5 separate regions of the Homo sapiens genome follow, and all the other regions are linked to region 2. Evidence: promoter capture Hi-C in 16 types of primary human blood cells and fetal thymus (Javierre and others, 2016). All regions are on one chromosome and are shown on one strand. Each heading gives the region's core, a stretch centred on a gene start or on the middle of the fragment in contact. The rest is flanking DNA. Distances are from core to core; before and after follow the strand shown. Region 1 has its middle 15 kb from the start of PBDC1. Region 2 holds the start of ABCB7 (ATP binding cassette subfamily B member 7). Region 3 overlaps MAGEE1 (MAGE family member E1). Region 4 holds the start of CHIC1 (cysteine rich hydrophobic domain 1). Region 5 has its middle 76 kb from the start of PBDC1.

Evidence for each region. The method cuts DNA at HindIII sites, captures the fragments that hold promoters and counts their contacts. A CHiCAGO score of 5 or more calls a contact.
Region 1: a fragment that was not itself captured here is called in contact with the fragment with the promoter of ABCB7 in region 2 in 2 of 17 cell types (total CD4 T cells and naive CD8 T cells); the score reaches 5.5 in total CD4 T cells.
Region 3: a contact is called between a fragment that was not itself captured here and the fragment with the promoter of ABCB7 in region 2, in 1 of 17 cell types (total B cells). The highest score is 5.2, in total B cells.
Region 4: a contact is called between the fragment with the promoter of CHIC1 here and the fragment with the promoter of ABCB7 in region 2, in 4 of 17 cell types (total B cells, naive B cells, non-activated CD4 T cells and 1 more). The highest score is 6.9, in total B cells.
Region 5: a contact is called between a fragment that was not itself captured here and the fragment with the promoter of ABCB7 in region 2, in 2 of 17 cell types (M2 macrophages and total CD8 T cells). The highest score is 5.5, in M2 macrophages.

Annotation. Positions count from the first base shown.
Region 1 is chrX:76,155,999-76,160,218 of GRCh38, reverse strand. No RefSeq gene overlaps it. Among named protein-coding and RNA genes, the nearest start is that of PBDC1, 15 kb to the left of the region's middle. The HindIII fragment of the contact is 4,234 bases long and covers 120-4,220 here.
Region 2 is chrX:75,153,870-75,158,541 of GRCh38, reverse strand. ABCB7 (ATP binding cassette subfamily B member 7) reads left to right here and starts at 2,259. Exons shown (of 16, transcript NM_001271696.3): 1 at 2,259-2,437. The coding sequence starts at 2,270. It also overlaps a transcript of UPRT not described here. RefSeq lists an enhancer at 2,149-2,578. The HindIII fragment of the contact is 6,846 bases long and covers 1-4,672 here.
Region 3 is chrX:76,431,205-76,435,466 of GRCh38, reverse strand. It overlaps MAGEE1 (MAGE family member E1), which reads right to left. Exons shown (of 1, transcript NM_020932.3): 1 at 4,125-4,262. Among named protein-coding and RNA genes, the nearest start is that of MAGEE1, 5.6 kb to the right of the region's middle. The HindIII fragment of the contact is 1,747 bases long and covers 1,337-3,083 here.
Region 4 is chrX:73,561,555-73,566,311 of GRCh38, reverse strand. CHIC1 (cysteine rich hydrophobic domain 1) reads right to left here and starts at 3,115. Exons shown (of 6, transcript NM_001039840.4): 1 at 2,732-3,115. The coding sequence starts at 3,027. It also overlaps the pseudogene MAP2K4P1. RefSeq lists a silencer at 3,136-3,195. The HindIII fragment of the contact is 6,151 bases long and covers 2,021-4,757 here.
Region 5 is chrX:76,246,561-76,250,842 of GRCh38, reverse strand. It overlaps the pseudogene LOC100533728. Among named protein-coding and RNA genes, the nearest start is that of PBDC1, 76 kb to the right of the region's middle. The HindIII fragment of the contact is 6,792 bases long and covers 1-4,282 here.

The sequences.
Region 1 (4,220 bases), core at 987-3,486, 1.0 Mb before region 2:
CTCTGCTGCAGGTCTGCTGGAGTTTGCTGGAGGTCCACTCCAGACCCTGTTTGCCTGGTTATCACCAGCGGAGGCTGCAGAACAGCAAAGATTGCTGTCTGTTCCTTCCTCTGTAAGCTTCTTCCTAGAGGGACACCTGCCAGATGCCAGCCAGAGCTCTCCTGTTTGAGGTGGTGCTCCTACTGTGAGGTGCCTCCTAGTCAGGATACATGGGGGTCAGGGACCCACTTGAGGAGGTAGTCTGTCCCTTATCAGAGCTCGAACACTGTGCTGGGAAATCCGCTGCTCTCTTCAGAGCTGCCAGGTAGGGACGTTTAAGTCTGCTGAAGCTGTGCCCCCAACCGCCCCTTCCCCCAGGTGCTCTGTCTCAGGGAGGTGGGTGTTTTATCTATAAGTCCCTGAATGGGGCTGCTGCCTTGTTTTCAGAGATGCCCTGCCCAGAGAGGAGGGAATCTGGAGAGGCAGTCTGGCTGCAGTGGCCTTGCTGAGTGAGGTGTGGTGGGCTCTGCCCAGATGGAATTTCTAGGCGGCTTTGTTTACACTGTGAGGGTGAAACCATCTACTCAGGCGTCAGCAATGGCAGACGCCCTTCCCCCCACCAAGCTGGAGCATCCCAGGTCGAGCTCAGACTGCTGTGGTAGCAGCGAGAATTTCAAGCCAGTGGATCTTAGCTTGCTGGGTTCCGTGGGGGTAGGACCCACCGAGCCAGACCACTTGGATCCCTGGCTTCAGCCCCCTTTCCAGGGGAGTGAACGGTTCTGTCTTGCTGGCGTTCCAGGTGCCACTGGGGTATGAAAAACTTCTGCGGCTAGCTCAGTGTCTGCCCAAATGGCCGCCCAGTTTTGTGCTGGAAACCCAGGGCCTTGGTGGTGTGGGCACCAGAGTGAATCTCCTGGTCTGTGGGTTGCCAAGACTGTGGGAAAAGCACAGTATCTGGGCCTAAGTGCAAAGTACAGTCCCTAATGACTTCCCTTGGCTAGGAGAGGGAGCTCCCGGACCCCTTGCGCTTCCCTGGTGAGGCAACACCCCACTCTGCTTTGGCTCACCCTCCTTGGGCTGCACCCACTGTTCAACCAGTCCCAGTGAGATGAACTGGGTACCTTAGTGGGAAATGTAAAAATCACCCACCTTCTGCATTGATCTCGCTGGGAGCTGCAGACTGGAGGTGTTCTTATTTGGCCATCTTGCCAGCCAGGGCTCCAGTGTTCCTTATTTCTTACATACGCTATATACCCCATGAAATTTGTCATTTAATCCCCCATATTTGTTGATCGCCTACTCAGAGCTATGTCCATATGTGTCTAAGACCTAGACATGTAGTGATGAAAAATGCACAGTACCCTCTTATAATGCACTCATCCTAGTGAGATATATTGTTATACTAAAACTGACCATTACCAAAAAAAAAAAAAAGACAGTAGTAATTATAATGATAGTGATTCCAAGGAATAGCACAGTGGCTGACACATATTAGAGGAGTGCCATGACTTTTTGTTGCATGAATGGATTAATGACAATACATTCAAAGCATTACTGGAAGACAAAGACATGAAAACTATCCTGTGACCATGCTGGAAGGCGCTTGACTCCTGAAGTGAATACATCTTAAGGTTAAGGTTAAAATCTCCTGACACATTAAGTTCCCATGAAAACCTTAGCAATTGCCACTTTTGATTGAATGTCTTCCATAGGTAAGGGTACAGAAATAATTATTGTTAACTGCTGAGTATGGATCACATAAGACTCAGACTGTCCCATACCAGTCTGTGTTAGTATATGAGTATGTGTGTGCACATATGTACATATGCATGTGCATGAATGCATTTAAGAAAAAGAGTGGGTCGGGTGTGGTGGTTCATGCCTGTAATCCCAGCAGTTTGGGAGGCCAGGATGGGTGGATCGCTTGAGCTCAGGAGTTCGAGACCAGCCTGGGCAACAGGGCAAAACTCCGTCTCTACTAACAATACAAAAAATTAGCTGGGCGTGGTGGTTCCAGCTACGTGGGAGGCTGAGGCGGGAGGATCACCTGAGCCTGGGAGGTGGAGGTTGCAGTGAACCAAGATCATGCCACTGCACTTCAGCCTGGGTGACAGAGTGAGACCCAATCTCAAAAAAAAAAAAAAAAAAAAAAAGAGAGAGAGAGAGAGAAAAGAAAAAGAAAAAGAGTGACACCTCTCCAACTATACCAGGGGCAGTACAAATGATCTGGAATCAGGATAGATTTAAATTCACCTCCTCCTTGGAAGTTACCAACCTTACTCTCATAGTTTCAGGGCCATGATGGTTTGTGGTTAAAGTTATGTCATCTTTTATTTCGGAGGTAACTGAGTTTTATTATCTATGTGAACTTAGGCAAGTCTCTTAAATGCAGAGTCTTGGCTTCTTCACTTTGAAAGTGAAGATTACAGACACATTTGACTTATGTGCTTATTTCAATGATGGAATTATATAAGACATGAATGTATGAGCTCTTAGCACAGGGACTAGAATACAGCAAATGCTCAGTAAATTATAGATTATTCAGAATGCCATGGACTTTCCAGACATAGCTCAGGTTTAAGCTCTAAGATTATTTTCTGCAAAGGTTATTTTGCTCCACATCTGCTAAGGGAGATACCTAGGTTGAGCATGGGGGAGAAATAGGCATATGTTAGCCCTAGTACTTGTGGGTCCAGCTGCAACTCCTTGATACTGTGGTGAGTTGGGGCTATCACACTGGATGTGCACTGACCTCAGACATGCCCATCTCTTTGCAGTGCATCATAGGCTTTCCCCAAGGGAAGTTCTGAAAGCCCCACTCAGAAAGCACAACACCAGGATGTTATAGACAAGACTTTGAACTTTAGAGGCAGGTAGCTCTGGATTTTAAAGAGGAAAATGAACTGAGCCCATGCTTTTTCTCTATATATCGTCCCTGTTTTCTCCTTCCCTTCATTGGCTTTGTTTACTCTGTCTCAATGCTTCCTTTCTTCCTTCTTTCTTGTTTTACTTTCTTATAGTCACAGAGCAATTTTTCATAGAAACATAAAACATTTTTAAATACTATTAACACTTGGTAATTCAAGCCCCATCTTTAAATTTTCTCAGCTAGAAATGTAGAAAAGTTTCTGCCTCCGTTGTGCTTTTTTTCTAACTAATCAGAACAATTTGGTCATTTAGGAATTGGACTAATTTTTCACTCAGAATTGTCTGAAACTTTTCTCACACCCATAATTCAGATCTCCTTTGTCATTCCATTCCATTCTCAGGTAAGGATATGGCACTGTATGTCAGAATATAACATCAAGCCTTCCTCTGTCTAAGCCTGGTGATAACATTGGTGGCCATCACACCCTGGCTGGGGCTACTAAGCATATTGCTGCAGAGCTCACTAGGTGAGCAGCCAGAGGAGAGATAGGAATGAGAGTAGTGATGAGCTTTTCCTGCTAACTTGGTATTTACTCTGTTCTGATTCAGACACATCTACAGGATAATTCAGGGCTCTGGACCAAGGAATAACCAGACATCTCTAAGAATGGCTCCTTGGTGCTGGTGGCACAAGAGTAACCTTTGTTTTGACCACCGGCCCACCAGTTGCACTGACCAACTGCTTTCAGATGGAGTTATTTAGGCTGTGCCAAGTGACTTGCACTGTTTCTGAACTCATAAATATAACTTGCAGCCCTCACTGGATTCATATTTGATCCCATGGGAGCTGGGCAAAGGAGACACACCTGAGAAGGCAATGTAGTCCTCTCTTCAAAATCACCACTTTCCTCAAATAGCCACAGTGTTACGTAGTTGGCCAAGCTGAGCTTCCCGGATATTACTTCCTAAGGATGTCATTTTCTAGTACCCTTTTTAGTCCCCAAATCAAAGAGTTATCTGATAGAAAAGAAATAGTATCTCACCATGATTAAAATTTTTATTACCTGATTAACTTTGATATTAAGTATCTTTTTCTGTGAAAGATGGGTGGGCGAAAGAAAACAGGAAAGTCATTTATGATAGTAACCACACATACCCAACAATACCTGAAATGTAGCAAGTGACACCATTTAATATCATCATAGTAGCATGCATACAACATTATTTTACTCCCATAGAAAAGAGTCAATTGGGAAGTAAACTAAAGAACTAAGAGTCATTATACATTGGTTGTAGAATTATGGCAACTTTTTCATTTATTGTGAAAACCTTCCCCTACTTTCCAAGTTTTCTCAAGTAAGGATTTCAAGTGC
Region 2 (4,672 bases), core at 1,010-3,509:
ACCTAGTCACAACTTTTCTTAGCCTCAGTTTCCTCATAAATATGGGCATATTAATAAATAATACCTATCTTCCATGGTCGATGTGAGGACTAAATGAAATAAGGTATGACAAAGCGGATTGTAAGTTACAAAATACTATACACATTTAATTATTGCATACATAAAGTGCTATCATGTGATCTGTGGTTGTAGCAGCTATTTATAGCAGCTTTTATTGTGTATACCTCTGTCTCTTTAATTTATGTCAGACAGTTATGTGTCAAGTTATTACAGGCTGAGTTGGCCTTTTTGTTGCTGCTCTTCCCCAGCAGTGTGCAACTCTTATTATGCCTCACGTTCTATTTCTGGGTGCCCTGGAAATTTTCTTCGGCTTATTTGGCAAATAAATATTTGCCTCACTTTAGCTCATCATAGAGTAACAACTTGGGTATTTCAATGTTATTCACACTTTTTGATCAAAACAGTTGGCTTACAATGAGCACTACTTTTGGAAAAAAATAATTTGGCTCCATTCAAAGACTTTACAACTGGGTGGTAAGATTCAGTGGCAATATTCAGCCCTAAGAGAAATCATTAGTAGAGTCTAGAGTTTCTCTAATGTATACTGTAGCTGTCTAACACAGAATAGATGCTGAATAAATATTTGTTGATGACAATATAGTCATTAATATGAAGCCATTACTGATCTACTGTCAACAATACAATAATAAGCTAGAAACATCCAATTAGTCACTAAGTCTTGCCAATTCCATCTCCTAATTGCCCTGCAATCGATCTACTGCCACTGCTACTGCTAGGTTGAGGCCTTTATTTTATGACTGAACTATTGCATTAACTTCATGACTTCAATATGAACTCCGTCCAATCCAACCTTCTCACTTAAGCCAGAGTAGCTTAATGGACATATAAATCTGATCATGTTACTCTCCTGATTAAAACTCTTCACTGGTTATAGGATAAAGTATTAACTTCTTAGAATGAAATAGAAGGCCCTTTACCATCAGGTCTCTGTTCACTCAGGTTAACCTCCTACTACTTTCCCAAACTCCATAGACTCCTGAACCTGAAAATATTTTCTTATGCCTTCTTGCTTTTAACATGTCATCTTCTTTACGTGTAATTCCAGTCAACCTCTTCAACTTGAATTCTATTTTTCTTTAAATAACTAGCTCAAGCATCCCCTTGAATGAATCCCAGAACAAAAAAGCTAACTGCATGGGCTACAGATTTCTGTTTTTCTTTATCAGACTTACTAGTCCAAAGTACCTCTTCATAAGAAGTCCATAATTATTTGTCTCTTTTGTGTGAAAAGTTGGAGAATGCAGCAGTGAATATAAAATTGCAACTGCATTATTGTCTCCGGGGTTTCAGGTAACATTTACAACTGGAAATGCAGTTTCCTAGATAACTGTAAACATATTTTGACATTTTGTTTGATAATAGTGGTGACAAAAGAATATAAGCCTGTCTTTAAACATGGTCTTCTCTCCATACATTTCACTTTACCACCCTTCAGCCAACCTAAGCGATTTTTCAAGAATTAGGGACGCTGCAAAAACCAAAGCGAAGAGCTAGAAAGAGTGACAAAATTAGTAAAGATGTCTGTAGTCTCTCTGTGTGTGTGTGTGTGTGTGTGTGTGTGAGACTGTCCCACGAGCAACAGACCAAAGGAAAACTGCCCCAAGGTTTGCGCAACAGAGAACAATCAGCAAAGTTAAAGTCCTTACAGGACAGAAAAGCAGTAAATCTTACAGCTGAAGCCTCCTCCCAGGGGAAATTAACGTCTGTAGTTTAATCTTTCCTTAATTCAGAAGGGAGTGAAGATAAGAATATGCATAGGGAAAATGGAGAGAGGGGAGCGTGACATTGAGTTGGAGGAGGTAAGAGAGTATTATGAGAGACAAGATGGGGTTGACAGATTTAGCAGATACAATATTTGGGACACACGCACGAAGAGATGATTCGTTGTTTATGTAAAATTGAAACTTAACTAGGTAGGCATCCTGTATTTCATCTGGCAACTCCAGGAAAAGAGAAAAATACAGTGTTACTCCAATATTCCCGGTTGTGTAAGGAAAACAATCAAAGCTCGGCCCTAAGGAAAAACAAATAAAAGAGGCTGTGCGAATGCATCCGAATCTTCAAACAGAATCCATTTCCGGTCTGGGGCCCTGGGAAAACAAGAAGAGGAGAGACAATTAAGGTAGCCGAATTCAGTCCGCCAGTGTCCCATAATCCTCTTCTCTCGGTTCCTCTTTCCTCGCTCAAGATGGCGCTGCTCGCGATGCATTCTTGGCGCTGGGCGGCCGCGGCGGCTGCTTTCGAAAAGCGCCGGCACTCCGCGATTCTGATCCGGCCTTTAGTCTCTGTTAGCGGCTCAGGTCCGCAGTGGAGGCCACATCAACTCGGCGCCTTGGGAACCGCTCGAGCCTACCAGGTGAGATGCCACTGACATGGAAGAATAGGGTGAAGGGCAAGGGGACCTGTAGGGAAAAGGTTGCCCTCCTGACCTCGGGGCAGAGAGAGCACCAAGAAGAAAGTCATGGCTAACTGGGAGCAGCAGTAAGTGAAGGAAATTAACGTCAGTAATTTGAGGAAAGGGCGAAGAAGAAAACCTTTGAGTTCAGCAAAGGGAAACGGGGCAGGAGGTTCTGGGCAGAGGACACCTGGAGCGCTGGAGGCTCTCGGAGTCATAGTTTTTCTCTCATATTAAGAGTTGGGGTAGACACCATTCCCAGCCTGCTTGCCTTTCTAAAGACGAGGAAGACTGGATTATTTTCCCCAATTAGTAATGGAATTTGGGACAGTTTATCTGTGGTTCAGATTTTACTCAGTTGGAATTAGCAATTCGGAGAGCACTGTAATGACAGCAAGCTATCTATAAACAGGTGGCGCCAGTTAACTCCCTTGCTGACAGGCGTGCTTCTTGATAGGCCAAAACCGTAACTATCTTTCCAAAACATAGACCGCCCTAAATTCTTGTATAAATATGACTGTCCTAGATCTGAAAAATACAGTGATGTTCTCTGTGCACAGGTCATTTTGGAAGCCATAGGCTACTTATCCTTAACTTATGAATGTAGCTATGGTTGTAGTGCCTCCTAAAATTTGAGTCCATTATTACCTCTCACTCAGGAACGGTTTTTTAAAAAATTATTTGTACTTAACTGTACTAAAGTATATCTTTTTATTTTCTGTGTATTGACAAGAGGTTTAATTGCCACCACGTATTTATCACTATCACTTTAAAATATTGTCAGTTTTGTATGAGAAACAACCTCTTAAATTTTGATTCTTCATCTACAAATATTTAACGTCTACCTTGTACATAGCCCTGTGCTAGATGATAGGGTACTAAGAGAGACATACAGTTATGCCTTCAAGGATTGTACAGTTTAGTTAAGGAGATTGGATCTATGCATTACAAAAATAACTGAAAAACACAGTGGTGGGTTAATTAGCAAATGAATAGTATGTACAATAAAGGCTATAGGCATCCAGAGGAAATAGTGATAATTAAGGACCAGGTTATAAAGAGTATTTCATGCTGGTGATAGAACTGGGGAGAATGTTCTGAACAGGGAGAATAGGGAATGACACTAAGCATGTGGAAGGCTGATGGAATGACATTTATAATTCATTCAGTAATTATTGAACACCTCTACAGGAGCAAACAAAATATAAGTCCTGTCTTTAAAGAGCTTAAAATCTAGTGGGAAATATGTAAATTAATCGGCAATTAAAATATAGTGGAGCTGTGTAATAATGGGAAAGGTACAAGGTATGGGACAGTATATGTGAGGGGTATTAAGTCTAATTGTAAGGTAGTGAAGATTGCCTTAAGTAACTGATATCTAAGGCAAGAGCTGAAAAATTAGAAGTTAGCCAGTTAAAGAAGGAATCGCATGTGCAAAGGCCCACAAGTCAGAGAGAACATGGACCTTTTCTAGAACTGCACGTAGTTTAGACTGTAGTGAGTCATTCAAGATAGGAAATAGCAGATTAGGCTAACGAAGCGAATCTAGATGATTTCATTAAGGTTTTTAAAGTATTTTATGGTTGAAAGTTTCTAACACATGATCTCTTGGGAATGGTTTTTGTTCTGTAGTTCTCCAATAAGGCAGATGAAGTTAAGATAAAATTTGTAAATGTTATCTTAGATAAAATTAGATATCTTAAGATAAAATTTCTTAAGCTGGAAGAATGAGGGGGAAGAGGGAAAAGGAGAAGTTATTAGGAATCTCAGAGGAGGCAATGGCAATACAAATTTAGCTTTCTCTCTTTCCATGAACGCTATCTCCACAACTTCCTTCTTCCACTCTGTCCTTTACATCCTACCATTTCCTTTAGTTACCATTTCCTCAGTGTGCAAAACAAGGGAAAGATGTTACCTTTGTTTTCTGTTTCTTAAAGGCATGGAACTCTTGCCATCCTTTTTTTAAAACAGGGTGAGAAAGGAATGATTACAAAGTTTTCAAAGTAGAAGCTGAGGTAACCTGAGGTACCTGCAAATTTGTGACTTGTGATTAAGATTACAAAATAATTACTGAATTCATACTTTTAGGACGATCATTAGTATATAGCATAATATTTTAGAGCTGAAAGGAACCTTAGAGCAGTGTTATGAAATAATGTTAGTGGGTTGGATTAGCACTTTTTTAGATGAAATTCA
Region 3 (4,262 bases), core at 961-3,460, 1.3 Mb before region 2:
TTAGAATTCTGGGAGACGAGGAACCTGTAAAGGAGGTGAGAAAGCAGTAGGAAGAAAGGCAGGAGGAAAACCAGAAGAGTATCTCACATGTTCAAAATGTTTTGAAGAGGAAAAAATAAATTAACTATGTCAAAATCCACTGATGAAGATAATGTCTGAGAAAAGATCAGTGGATTTATCAATTTTTATATAGGTCACTGTACATATTGAGAGAAGCAGCTGCAGTTGATTGGTGTAAGAAAAACCTAATTGTGTTGAGTTCAGAAATAAATAGTAGAAGAGAAATAGGAGATATCAAAAATAAACATTCTTTCAAGGAGTTTGGCTTCTGCTGGAAAGGATATTCTTCTGATTTCTGCCAGCAAAAGTAATCTTTTAAATCTGAGCACACTTAGAAAATAATTTCAGTTAAACATTGAATGTTAATAATAACATTTCCAAGAAAGAAAGCAGTAGAAACAATAACTCTTCTTCAATTTTAGCAAATGCACTGAAAAAAAACCTTGGCATTTTCTAATTTCCTTCCTTTCATACTTTAGCTACTGTGTTTTTCTTCTTGTTAGCCTTTTAAAGTAGTTTTTACACTTTATATGATTATCTGAGAACTGGGTATTTTACTGCCTCACATATTTTCATCAAAATATGATGACTTCCATTTACCTACCTGATTTCTATCACTGTTACTACTTGAAATAGTCTAATCCAGGAAGACAGAGCAAAGTTATCTCACTCATCAAAAAACAAAACAAAACAAAACAATCAAACCCCACATTCATCTCAAAATGACTGCTTTTCCGCTATCCACTCTACCAACAAAGGATCACAGTTGTGAATTTCCATAATCATCCTTTCTGTTCAATCTACCAATTTTTAAGGCTGTATCTCAAATTCAATTTTGGGGAAATAATTGTTTTTAATCAATTTTGATGAGTCATCATCTGAGATATGTGGATAACCTAGAGAACTTTAGCAGTTACTTAGATTAGATTAAGTGGCTACATAACTTCTTAGGCAAAAGGGGAAATCTTACAGAACCATTCATTGGCAAGATTGAATAACAATGTGAAGACAATCACCAGAGTCCCACCCATGATTTCTCTCTACATAAAGAGAAGAGACTTCTCCTGTGAAGTTTAGAAGCTTTTCCATTCCACCACAGATGAGTACAGCAATTAGTCAGTCACATTGACTGTAGCTCTTTGCAGGGTTTGACACAAGTCAATGATCATTACCTTAACGCAGAATGACAAGATCCTTTTTTAAAAAATAGTACACATTCATGTAATCATGAGAGCACGACCCTCCACTGAACACATGGAATCTTGAAACAAAAGCTTGCATCCTAATCTAACAGGTGCATTTGAACAAAGACATTTAATCAGACATTTTCTGAGACCAAAATGGTTACTTTTGAGAGAAATGCATGAAAAAAAACGTATTTTCTTCCTTGGTTGTCTTTAGTGGGATATTCTGAATGTTTGTGCATGTTGGTCAAGTTTATCTGAGAGAAAAATAGTTCGCAATATTTAAATGACAAACAACCAAGAAACTTGCTTAGGTAACATCTTCTGGCAACAATTGGATAACACACAAGTCTACTAAGAAACATGAAAAGAATAGAGAACTAATACAGAACTTAAGAAGTAAATGAAGCTCTATTATCAGAGCCTCTCTCTCAGGAAGGTTGTGCGAAGAGTAAAACGATTCAGTGATGTGGGTGTTATATCCCAGGCAGAACAATAAGAATATATGTAATCTTTACAGATTTTTTAAAAAAAATATTAGTAATGATATAAGAAGATATGTAATTCTTTTAGATTATAACAATAGTAATAGTGATAATAACAAGGAGGAGAAGGTGGGAAGAGGAAAGGGGAAAGAGATGAGGATGATGAAGAAGAGAAAGAAGAAGAAGAGGAAGAATTATTATTAAAGAGTAGGAGGGGAGGGGAAGGAAACCAATAAAAACAGCAACAACTGTAGTGGAGATTGTGATGTATCACCCAGATGCTCCTACTCTTCAGGATCACATTACTCATTCCTCCAGCTCTTGAGGGTGATGACAGCTGCTGTGTTTACAGCTGAGTACCTTTCTCAGGGATTACTCTCAGCTGAAAAGAACTGACTCTCAAAAAGTCATAGCCCCTTACCAGGAGGCAGTTTGCATCCAACGACTGGTGAGTATGGTGGGATAAAACTTTGGCCTCTTTTTCCTAATTTGGGACAACTCTGCAGGACCACACCAACTCCAGAGCTCCCTGTGGAATCAGTTAATTTATTTGCTGTGACTGAATCACTGCTCGACTTCTCTTTCTACACAATTCTGCTTCTCTTGCTCCCCACACCTGTTGAACCCAAAACAACTCCCCAGTAAAATTTCTGCAAGGAAATCACTCACAGTCTCATTCCTGGAAAAAATCAACATGCAACAATATCACTTATATATTGCTAACTACATGTCAAGTGCTCTTGTGTTTTACATGTTAACACATTTAATCCCCAACATTATGGCGTAGGTGAAATTATTATGCCCATTTTACAGATGAAAAAATGGAGGCACAAAGGAGTTAAGTAACTTGCCTGAGTTCTCATCTCTAGTATCAGAGAGAGCCAGGGTTTGTACCCAGGCACTTTGACTCTAGACTACATGCTCTTACTACTATGTTCTAATGCCTTTTAACCTTGATACCACGGAGTTTGATTTCCAAGGTGTTTTTTAAAAGATAACAGGCTTTCTGACTTCAATTTCTTTAAATTTGATTTTGTTCAGAAAATAACACCTCTTTTCATAGGTACATTAAGAAGAAATTACTATGCTAAAATTAGAGTTTCTGCCCTCCCCACCCCCTTTAGTTTTTCAATATGAGAGCCAAAAGAATCCTGTCAAAACTAAGTGGTTTCCTGCCATCGCTCAGATCAAAAGCCTTAAATAGTTTTCCATCTCACTCACAACTAAAGCCAAATTCTTATATGGTAGACTAATTTTTTATTCAAAAATATATGTTCTTCCTCTCTACTGGGCCCATTCCTATATGTTCTTCCCTGTAGAAGGAGTACACTTCCCAGCTCATTGACATCAAGCTTGCCCATGTGACTTGCTTTTGCCAATGGATTATGACTACAATATGCCATATATGAGCATAGGCTTTGAAAACTATCACATGGTTCCACTATGGCTCTTTTACTTCTGCCACAAGAACAGGTGTCCCATATATGATTTACTCCTTTAGCCTGGTTACCTGAAGGAAGACAATATAAACAGAATCACAGACAGCCCATGAAAGGGATGTAAAATGAGCCCAAAATTTTGTTGTTGTAAGCCTCTGAGATTTGGGTATTTTTTAAAAACCCACAGCATAACTTAGAGAAAGCTGGCTCATGTATCTTATTGAAACCATTGATGACACAATATATCCTGCTCTCTGGCCTTACATCTTTGACTTTTTTTCCTACCAGCACACATAAAGACTGAAATCCAGCCTTGAATCAGTTTAATTCATGATTGTATTAGGGACCCCATCTTGGCTGGGCACGGTGGCTCACGCCTGTAATCTCAGCACTTTGGGAGGCTGAGGTGGACAGATCACGAGGTCAGGAGTTTGAGACCAGCCTGGCCAAAATAGTGAAACCCCGTCTCTACTAAAAATACAAAAATTAGCTGGGTGTGATGGCACTTGCCTGTAGTCCCAGCTACTCTGGAGGCTGAGGCAGGAGAATTTCTTGAACCCAGGAGGCAGAGGTTGCAGTGAGCCGAGATCATGCCACTGCACTCTAGCCTGGGCAACAGAGCGAGACTCTGTCTCAAAAAAAAAAAAAAAAAAAAAGACCCCATCTTGTCCCCACCCCACATACCCAACAGCTTCCTTAAGGACCACCCTGAACACCCCAGGAATTGGTCAGTTGTGCCTCTTTTTAACTACCATAGCACTCTCTATTTTTCTATTGTAGCACATAGTACACCATAATAAATTGGTGATTTAAATGACCTCCCCCTGTACCCTATCCAGCCTCTGAATTCTTGGGCAGGTACTATATCTTGTAAACTTTTATACTTCTATAACTAGGGCACACCACTGTGCTCACTGTATGAAAGCAGTTGAATAAGTCAGTGTATTAGCATTATGTTTCATTTATTAATCTTTTATTTTTCATTACATTTTAGTACAGCAAAGCAAATACAGGTAAACATCAGTATTCTTCATACAATAGCAGACAGAAAGGGAAGCCAGCCACAATTTAGAGTGCCTTTTCAGTTGTTGTTA
Region 4 (4,757 bases), core at 1,866-4,365, 1.6 Mb after region 2:
GATTAAACTGTGTTTTAAGAAAATTAGTTTGGCACAAGCACACAGGATGGACTGGAGTAGGGAGAGGCAGCAGACTGTGGCAATAAGTCAAGCAGGAGATGATGGCAACCCAAACTAGAGTGGTGCCAAATAGGAATGAGAAAATGAAAAATCTAAGAGATATTTCAGAAACTATGATGATATAATTCTGGGGCAGACTGACACAGGGCAATTCAAGGAGAAGGAAGAGTCAAAATGACTCAAAGGTTTTGAATGTTACCCTGGGAGATCAGAATGGTGGCATCAAGGAAAGAAATGAAACAAATGAAAAGCACGGGCAATGTGGAGAGGATGTTGAGCTTAAAATATACTGAGTTTGAGGTGAGGGCTCTCAAATTTTAAACTTTGAGAAGAAACAAAATGCTCTATACAACAGAAGGCTGCACAAAGAATGGAAAAAAATCAGGGCTGGTAGAGAATATTAAATATTTCATTCAGATAGGGTATATAGTTTAAGGCAACTCTAACACTCCTATGCCAGAAAAAAAATAAACAGAAGTTGATATTTTAGAAGTCGCAGAATAAGATTACCTACTTCATAAGGATATTACTTTAACTGATAAAAGGAAGGCTTCACTACCATACAAAGACCCATTTCTCAGATCCAGTTAAATTTTCTCCAAGACATGTAATCTCTTTCAAATCCCAAGACATTTAATATCATATGTGATTTCTAGGTATAAGAATGTGTACAACAAAACTAAATAAGTTTCCAAAGTATATACAATGGTTAGTGAGTCTAGTACTGGTTTGCTTCTTTTCAGGTTTTGGTTTCAGTCAATGAATACCAACAGTACTACCCGCATGCTCCTAATTAGAAGGACATTATACCAATCAGAAGGGCCTGGGCATGGCAAGTGTCAGTGTTCTTCTAATGAAGCAAATAGGTTGGTAAGTACCTGTGCAGGGTCGAATGGAACCATAAATAAATTTCAGGTAACTTAAATTTTATTTTCTTGTTCCTTCTCCTTTGCCTGAATTTTGCAAATGTGGAGGTGGAATGTTGGAGTATAAAATTATGGACTAAACGGTCATGTAACATAATCTGCATAAAAGTAACCTTTGGTACCAGCCATCATAATTAGTTTGAGTAATAAATTGTCTCCCTAGTGACAAAAGGAATGGAAGTAAAACCGTGCAATAAGTTGGCATCTGAATATTGTAGGCTATCTGCAAAATTCTTGGACCAAGAAAAATTGTCTTAAAATTTCCTAATCAAAAAGCAGCTCTAAAACCCTCCCCCAACACTTCCCCAATTTCAAAATATTTGTTAATATATTTGATGCAAAGATTACGAAAGTATATTACAATTAAAATACTCAACATATCACGCCTGTAGTCCCAGCTACTCAGGAGGCTGAGGCAGGAGAATTGCTTGAACCTGGGAGGCAGAGGCTGCAGTGAGCCAAGATTGCGCCACTGCACTCCAGCCTGGGCAAAAGAGTGAGACTCTGTCTCAAAAAAAAAAAAAAAAAAAAAAACTCAACATGTTAAAAATTGAAGCTAATATAAGGGAGGTAGCATATATATGATTTAATGTAACATGAACTCAATTGAAAGTCAAAGGGACTAGGTGAGCCATTATCAAAACCAGAGGCAGCATGACATAACAACAAAAGGCAACCTATTTTGAAAATGCAGTAAAAGATAGCATAGTTCAGAGGATGAACATGACACAGTACTCAAACTTCCAAATAGTTATGGTCCAAGCAAATAAAAATGAGGAAGCACTCTTTAAATCCCGGAGAATCATCAACATTTTTGCCTTGTAGCTGTTATGAAGTCCCTCCCCATTTTATTTTCTGAAATATTCAATTTTTCCTCAAGATTTCAATTTTTTAAAAAACCACCCTGGATAAATTTTAAAGAAATTATGCTCAGCTCCCAAAGTATTAATTTCCATATATATTTAATGCCTGTATATTTCATACTTGGGCATACAAAATCCCTTGGAGGTAAATTATCTCAGAACTGAAAAGCTTTAGAAACCATCTACTCCAAACCCTTCATTTTAGAGATGAAGAAATCAAGGCGCAGAAATGAGAAAAAGCAACCTGACCAAGGTCACAGGGCCAGTAAGAAGCAAAACCGGGACCAGCGTCTAAGAGCCCTGACTCAATCCATTTCTTTTTCTACTTTCCATAGCTGCCTCTCATCCTGAACCTCTAATCGAGTGATATATAAGGAAGGATTCGATAGGAAGAATGGATGGATGAATACGTGGGTGAATGAACATTCTATTATTATTCACAAAATATATCATGTTTCTGTTTTGAAGAATGCAAGCCTAGTTCTTGTCACATGTCACAGCAATTGCTGTTTCCCACAAAGTATCAATCTTGTCAGCAAAAAACCCTCTGGTACATCCTGCAGTTTAGAGACTGTTCACTTGCCAGCATACATACAAGAAAGGAGACTCACCCCTACTCCAATCGCTCTGGCTCCCAAACCCCTAACTTCCCTCTCCTATACTCACTCTTTACCTGGCATTGGTGCATCATATTTACATTCTCCTCACTTCCTTCACACGTATCCACCCATGGTTTCCCCATTTAGACCAGGTGTCCTTTCCTAAGTGTACGCCTCAGTCAATCAGTCAACCCTCCCCCACTCCACAGGCCCCTCGATCACTTCTCATTCCTCTGTTGCCAAATCTCAGGCATTTCAAGTCCCAAGACCCCCTCTCGCTTACACAGTGATGTGGCCGGCACCCCGCACTAATACAGGGTCGGGAGCATATCTCCGCAGATGCTCCTCGCTCACTACCCGAGGCGGGGGCGGCGCTTCCTCCTCCTCTTCCTCCTCCTCCTCTTCTTCCTCCTCCTCCTCTTCCTCCTCTTCCTCCTCATCCTCCTCGTCATCGTCGGGCCCAGATACCGACGACGACGACGACGGCGACGACGACGACGTTGCCGCTTCTTCTTCCTCCTCCTCCTCCAGTTCCGAGATGGTGTCGAACTCCGCCATGTTGGGCAGCAGGATGCTCATCACGTGACCTCGCGATCGCCGCCACGCTCCCGGAGAAGAGTTTGAACCTGCCGAGGTGCTGCAAGAGGAGGGGGAACGAAATGAAGAGAAAGAGGAGGGGTGTAGGGACAGGATTTGAGGAGACGCGCCTGCGTGTTGGGCAGACGGGGGGGTGGGGGGGCGGCTGCTGGAGGCGGGGGCACTAGAGAGGAGCAAAGTCAGTGTACGCTTGCGCAGCTCCAAGGGGAGGGGGCCGCTAGAGGTGAACTCCAAGGAGTTATCCAGGTCCGGTCTGCGGGTGCTCGCCTTAATACTGCTCTCTGAGCGTCAGCTACTTGTATTCGGGGTATCTTCTGATTTTATTGCTTATTAATTAATGCTGGGCATTATTAACCCAACTGCAGGCGGGTGAGAGAAAGCATATTGTATAAAAGTAAGGTTAGAACTTTGTCCAAAATATCTCAAGGTATATACCAATCCCTTACGTTTGTTCAGCATTACAGTTTAAAAGCCTTGCGTCATAACTTTGCCACAATCTTGGGAGGCAGGGTAAGCACTTTTATTAGCATTTTACTTAAGAGGAAACTTTTTACTACTTCTCCTATGTAATACTTAACGGAGGACTTATTAACTCAGGGACTGTGCTAAGTGCTCTGTATGTATATCTCATTTAATCCTCTGCAACCCTATGAGGTATGTATCATGATGATTTTATATTACAGATGGGAAATCTAGGTGCAGAGAAAATAAGTAATTTGTCCAGTGTCAGGGAGCTACTAAATGGGAGACCTGGTTTTAAATTTGGTGGTCTCTTCTGATTCCAGAAGCCCAGTACTCTTAACCAAAGGGCTGTACTGCCTGAAGTTGTTTGGAAAGATTTTGTAGAATGGTGCCTCTTGGGCTCTTCCTTAAAAGATGAATCAGAATATGCATGTTTGAATTTTGGAGTGTTTTTTGGGGGAGGGGGCGGATGGAGGGGGTGAAAGGAGCATTCCAACCTAAGGAAACCTTAATTAACATCATCCATTTTCCAGACACTGAGCTAGACCCTCACATACAATATTTCAGTTAACCCTTAATCCTGAGAGGTAAGTATCATTATATCTATTTTATTACATGACAAAAGTGGGTCTCAGAAGTTTAAGTAATTTATTCAAGTCTATGGTGACCTTTTGTTCAAAATTTTCCATTTTAAATGGTCTATCCTATCTTCTTTACACTCACTAAAATGTTGTGGGGATCACATATTTTGCGTATCTAAATAGTGTGCCAAACTGTTTCATACTTGGCAGCAGCACAAAAATCCATATCATTAAGACAGTAAAGTCACACAGCTGCTAAGTAACAGAACAAACACTGTAATCCAGGCATTCTAATACCAGCTTCACTGCTCTTTCTGCTACTCTACGGCTGCATCCCAATCAGATGGTGTGTCTCTGGGGAAACAGACATAGTCAAACTTTAATTTAGGATGAGCACGACATTATCAGTATAAACAAAGCATTTAATGTGTGTGAAGTAGGAAGAAATTAGTTCTGTAAGAGAAATGAATCAAACCATTATCATCAAGGAGTATGTGTTATTAAAATGAAAAGCCCATTTTTATTCAAAAGTTGGTTTATTTAGGGAACTTTAAAAATAAGTCGGAGATCGAGACCATCCTGGCTAACAAGGTGAAACCCCGTCTCTACTAAAAATACAAAAAAAATTAGCCGGGCGCGGTGGCGGGCGCCTGTAGTCCCAGCTACTCG
Region 5 (4,282 bases), core at 716-3,215, 1.1 Mb before region 2:
TATGCTATGTATCCCTGGACATCTTCATAGCTCCTGGAAATCACTCCCTTCCAATACCAATCCATGGGCATTCCATCTTGCCCAGGTTGAGGAGGGCTATCCAATTAATTCCACTTCTTGTGGGACTCGACATCAGAGCCAGTACAGGAGCAGAAATTGCTGGAGTCACACATGCCTCCTAAACCTATAGCCAACTCTCAACAGAAATAGCCAACAGTATTGATGCCATGGCTAAAACCTTAGCAGCCATGCAAGAAAAAATTGACTCTTTCACAGCCATGGTCCTCTAGAAATGCCAAGAGCCATATATGTTAATGGTAGCACAGGGAAGAATTTGTTTAACCTTAGATGAAAAATGTTGTTTCTGGGTAAATCAATTAGGAAAAATGCAAGACAGCATCAGACAACTCAAAAATCAAGCCTCCCATTTATGAGAACAATTTATGAGAAATTAAGAAGGAACCTGAAATGGTTTTTCTGGACTTTTCCCTTTTTAGGCCATCTTTTCATTCTATTACTTTTGCTCCTTTTTGGTCCATATCTTCTCAATCTAATAACCCAATTTTTCTCCTCTTGCATTCAAGCTGTCAAGCTCCAGAAGATCATCAGTGAAGGATAAGTAAAGGATACTGTCCTCTCAATACTCACGAGTCAGCCTTCTATAGGGGACCACTGGATTGCCCATCAGCGGAATATGACAGAGGCAAAACCCTACCTGTGTTCATTGAACCTGGTTGGGCACCACTGTTGCTGGCCTATGGAGCCACCCTTCCCTGACAACTAGCAAGAGTCTGAGACCCATGGGCCAAACACTGCCCCTCTGTCAGCAAGAAGCAGTTACAGAAGACTGACCTTCACCCATTATCCCAAAGAATTGGGTCTCAGACTTTTGAAGGCAGAATGTTAGAGTAGGTAGTTATACAGATATGAGCAGAGTGGGAGAGGGCCCTGCCAAAATGGCAGGCACTCACTGGCTGATAACCGGGTGATTATACAACTTCTTCTTCTAGGATAATAAGTGAGGGCCCTAGAAATGTAGGCACTCATTAGATGATGGTTAGGCAATCATAAAACTGTTTCTCTGAAATGATAAGTGGCCACGACTGGCACTAAGCGGTAGAGAAGTTCCCAAAGGATAGGAGATATCTGGAGCCAGCAAACCACAATTCCTTGATAAGGTCTTAAATATGCACAGTAGGGGGCAAAATGACCAAGTTTGACTGGTATATGGCCTTCCTCTGGGGGCACTCGATCAGTAAAAGAAATGCCCCAAGTGAGCATGGGCACAACCTCAGTAAACACACTGCACATGTGGCCCCTCGAAAGTGATGACAGGTCACTGTTCATGAATCAAAGAAATATCCCAGCCCAAGGGAGGGATAAATCAAGGGAATAGAAAAGAAAACCTGGAACCAATACAGGATATAAAAATCCCAAGCCACAGACTGAGCATGGCACTTGATCTCTCAAGTTCCTCTCTTGGCCATCTTCCAAATGTACTTTGCTTCTTTTAACAAAACTCTGCCTCTGCTTTAAAATTTGCCTCCATCTCTCAGTTGAACTCTTTTTTCTAAGAAGACAAGGGCTGGAATTGCTGTGGAAATGCCACCAGTTGCAGACCCATCGCTGGTAACACACCCAACACTGAAGCACCCAGATATGTGAAAATCGAGCAAGATATAATTAGAGCTAAAGAGAAATATAGAGTCCAATACAATAATACAATAATAGTTAGAGACTTCAATGCCTCACTTTCAGCACTGGACAGATCTTTCAGACAAAAAAATGTACAAAGAAATATCAGACTTCATTTGAACTATAGAACAAATGGATCTAATGATTTACAGATATTTCATGCAATGGCTACAAAATACACATTCTTTGCCTCAACACATTAATCATTCTCAAGGATAGACCATATGTTAGGTTATAAAACAAGTCTTAAAACATTTTAAAAAAGTGAAATAATATTAAGCATATTCTCTGACCACAACGGAATAAAACTAGAAATTAATAAGAAGAGCAACTTTGAAAACTATGAAAATACATAAAAATTAAACAATATGCTCCTGAATTACCAGGGCATCAATGAGGGAATTTAGAAAAAAAAATGAAAAAATTATTAAAGGAAATGATAATGGAAATAAAACATACCAAAATCTATGGGATACAGCAAAAGTTGTATTAAGATGAAAATTTATAGCTATAAGTGGCAACATCAAAAAAAGAAAAACTTCAAAGTAGCAATTTAGTGATACATCTTAAAGAACTAGAAAAGCAAGAGCAAACAAAATATGAAGTTAGTAGAAGAAAAGAAATAATAAATATCAGAGCAGAAATAAATAAAATTAAATGAAAAAATACAAAACATCAATGAAACAAAAAGTTTGTTTTTTTAAAAAGCTAAACAAAATTGAAAAATCTTTAGCCAGATTAACAAAGAAAAAAAGAAAGAAGATCCAAGTAAATAAAATCAGACATGAAAAAGGAGACATTACAGCAGATACTGCAGAAATTCAAAAATCACTAGTGGCTACTATGAACCAATCATTAGTGGCTACTATAAGCCAATAAATTTGAAAACCTAGAAGAAATTGACAAATTTCTAGACACATACAACATACCTAGATTGAACAAGAAAGAAATCCAAAACCTGAAAAGACCAACAACAAGTAACAAGATCGAAGCCATAATAATAAGTTTTTGAGTAAAGAGAAGCCCAGGACCAAATGACTTAACTGCTGAATTCTACCAAACATTTAAAGAACTAATACCAATTGTACTCAAACCATTCCAAGAAATAGAGGAGAGAATACTTCCAAACTCATTCTATAAGCCAATGTTATCCTGATACAAAAACCAAAGACACATGGAATAAAGGAAATTACAGGCCAATATCACTGATGAATATTGATGCAAAAATCTTCAACAAAATATGAGCAAGTGGAATTCAAAATACGTTAGTTAGATTATCACTGGGAAGAGGGATTTATTCTCAGGATGTCAGAACGGTTCAACATATGCAAATCAATGTAATACATCATATCAAATGAAGGATAAAACCATATGATCATTTTAATTGATGCTGAAAAACCATTTGATAAAATCAAATGCCCTTTTATAATAAAAACCCTAAAAAAACTTGGTATAGAAGGAATATACTTCAACGTAATAAAAGGCATATATGACAGACCCACAGTTAGTGTTATCCTGAATGGGGAAAAACTGAAAGCCTTTCCTCTAAGATCTGGAACACAAGGATGCCCACTTGCACCACTGTTATTCAAAATAGTATTGAAAGTTCAAGCTGCAAAATCAGACAAGAGAATGAAATGAAAGGTATCCAAATTGAAAGGAAAGGAGTCATATTTTCCTTATTTGCAAAAGATATAATCTTATATTTGAAAAAACCTAAAGACTCAACAAAAAACTATTAGGACTGATAATTTCAGTTAAGTTAGAGGATACAAAACTAATTTACAAAAATCAGTAGCATTTCTATAGTCCAACAGTGAACAATCTGAAACACAAATTTAAAAACTACACAATAGAATACTATGCATCCATAAAGACGATGGCAATCCTGTTATTTGCGACAATGTGGATGAACTGGAGGGCATTATCTTAAATCAAATAAGCCAAATACAGAAAGAAAAATACTACATGATCTTATTCATATGTGGAATCTTAAAAAGTTGAGAGTAGAATGGTGGTTACCAAAGGCAGGGGTATTTAGCAGGGAGTGGGAATTTGAGAGATGGTGGCCAAAGAATGCGTAGCTATAGTTACATAAAAGAAATAAGTTCAAGAGATCTACTGTGCAACGTGGTCACTATAGTGGTGATGATATATTGTATTTTTAAAAAACACACAAGAATTGAATGTTAAGGGATCTCACCACAAAAATTTTGACTATGTGAGGTGATGCATTTGTCGATTGCCTGGATTTAACCATTTTACAGTATATGTATATACTTAAATGTCATGCTGCACATAATAAATACATACAAATTAATCTGTCAATTTAAATAAATGCATAAAAATGTTGAGAACCTTAAATAATAATAAGCCTTCTCATATATTGAGACAAGATTCTGGAAGAGAGTAAGGGGAAAACAGATATAACTAGGGAGTTTAACTTTGAATTGACCAGTGAAACAATAAGGAACACTTCTGAGAAAAGGCTGAGAAGCCATTATTCACAGTTACTCTCCCCACTTTATCTTCCCCAGAGGAAAACTGGGACTCTAAAATAAAATGTGGCCACTTTGCCGAAAATGAA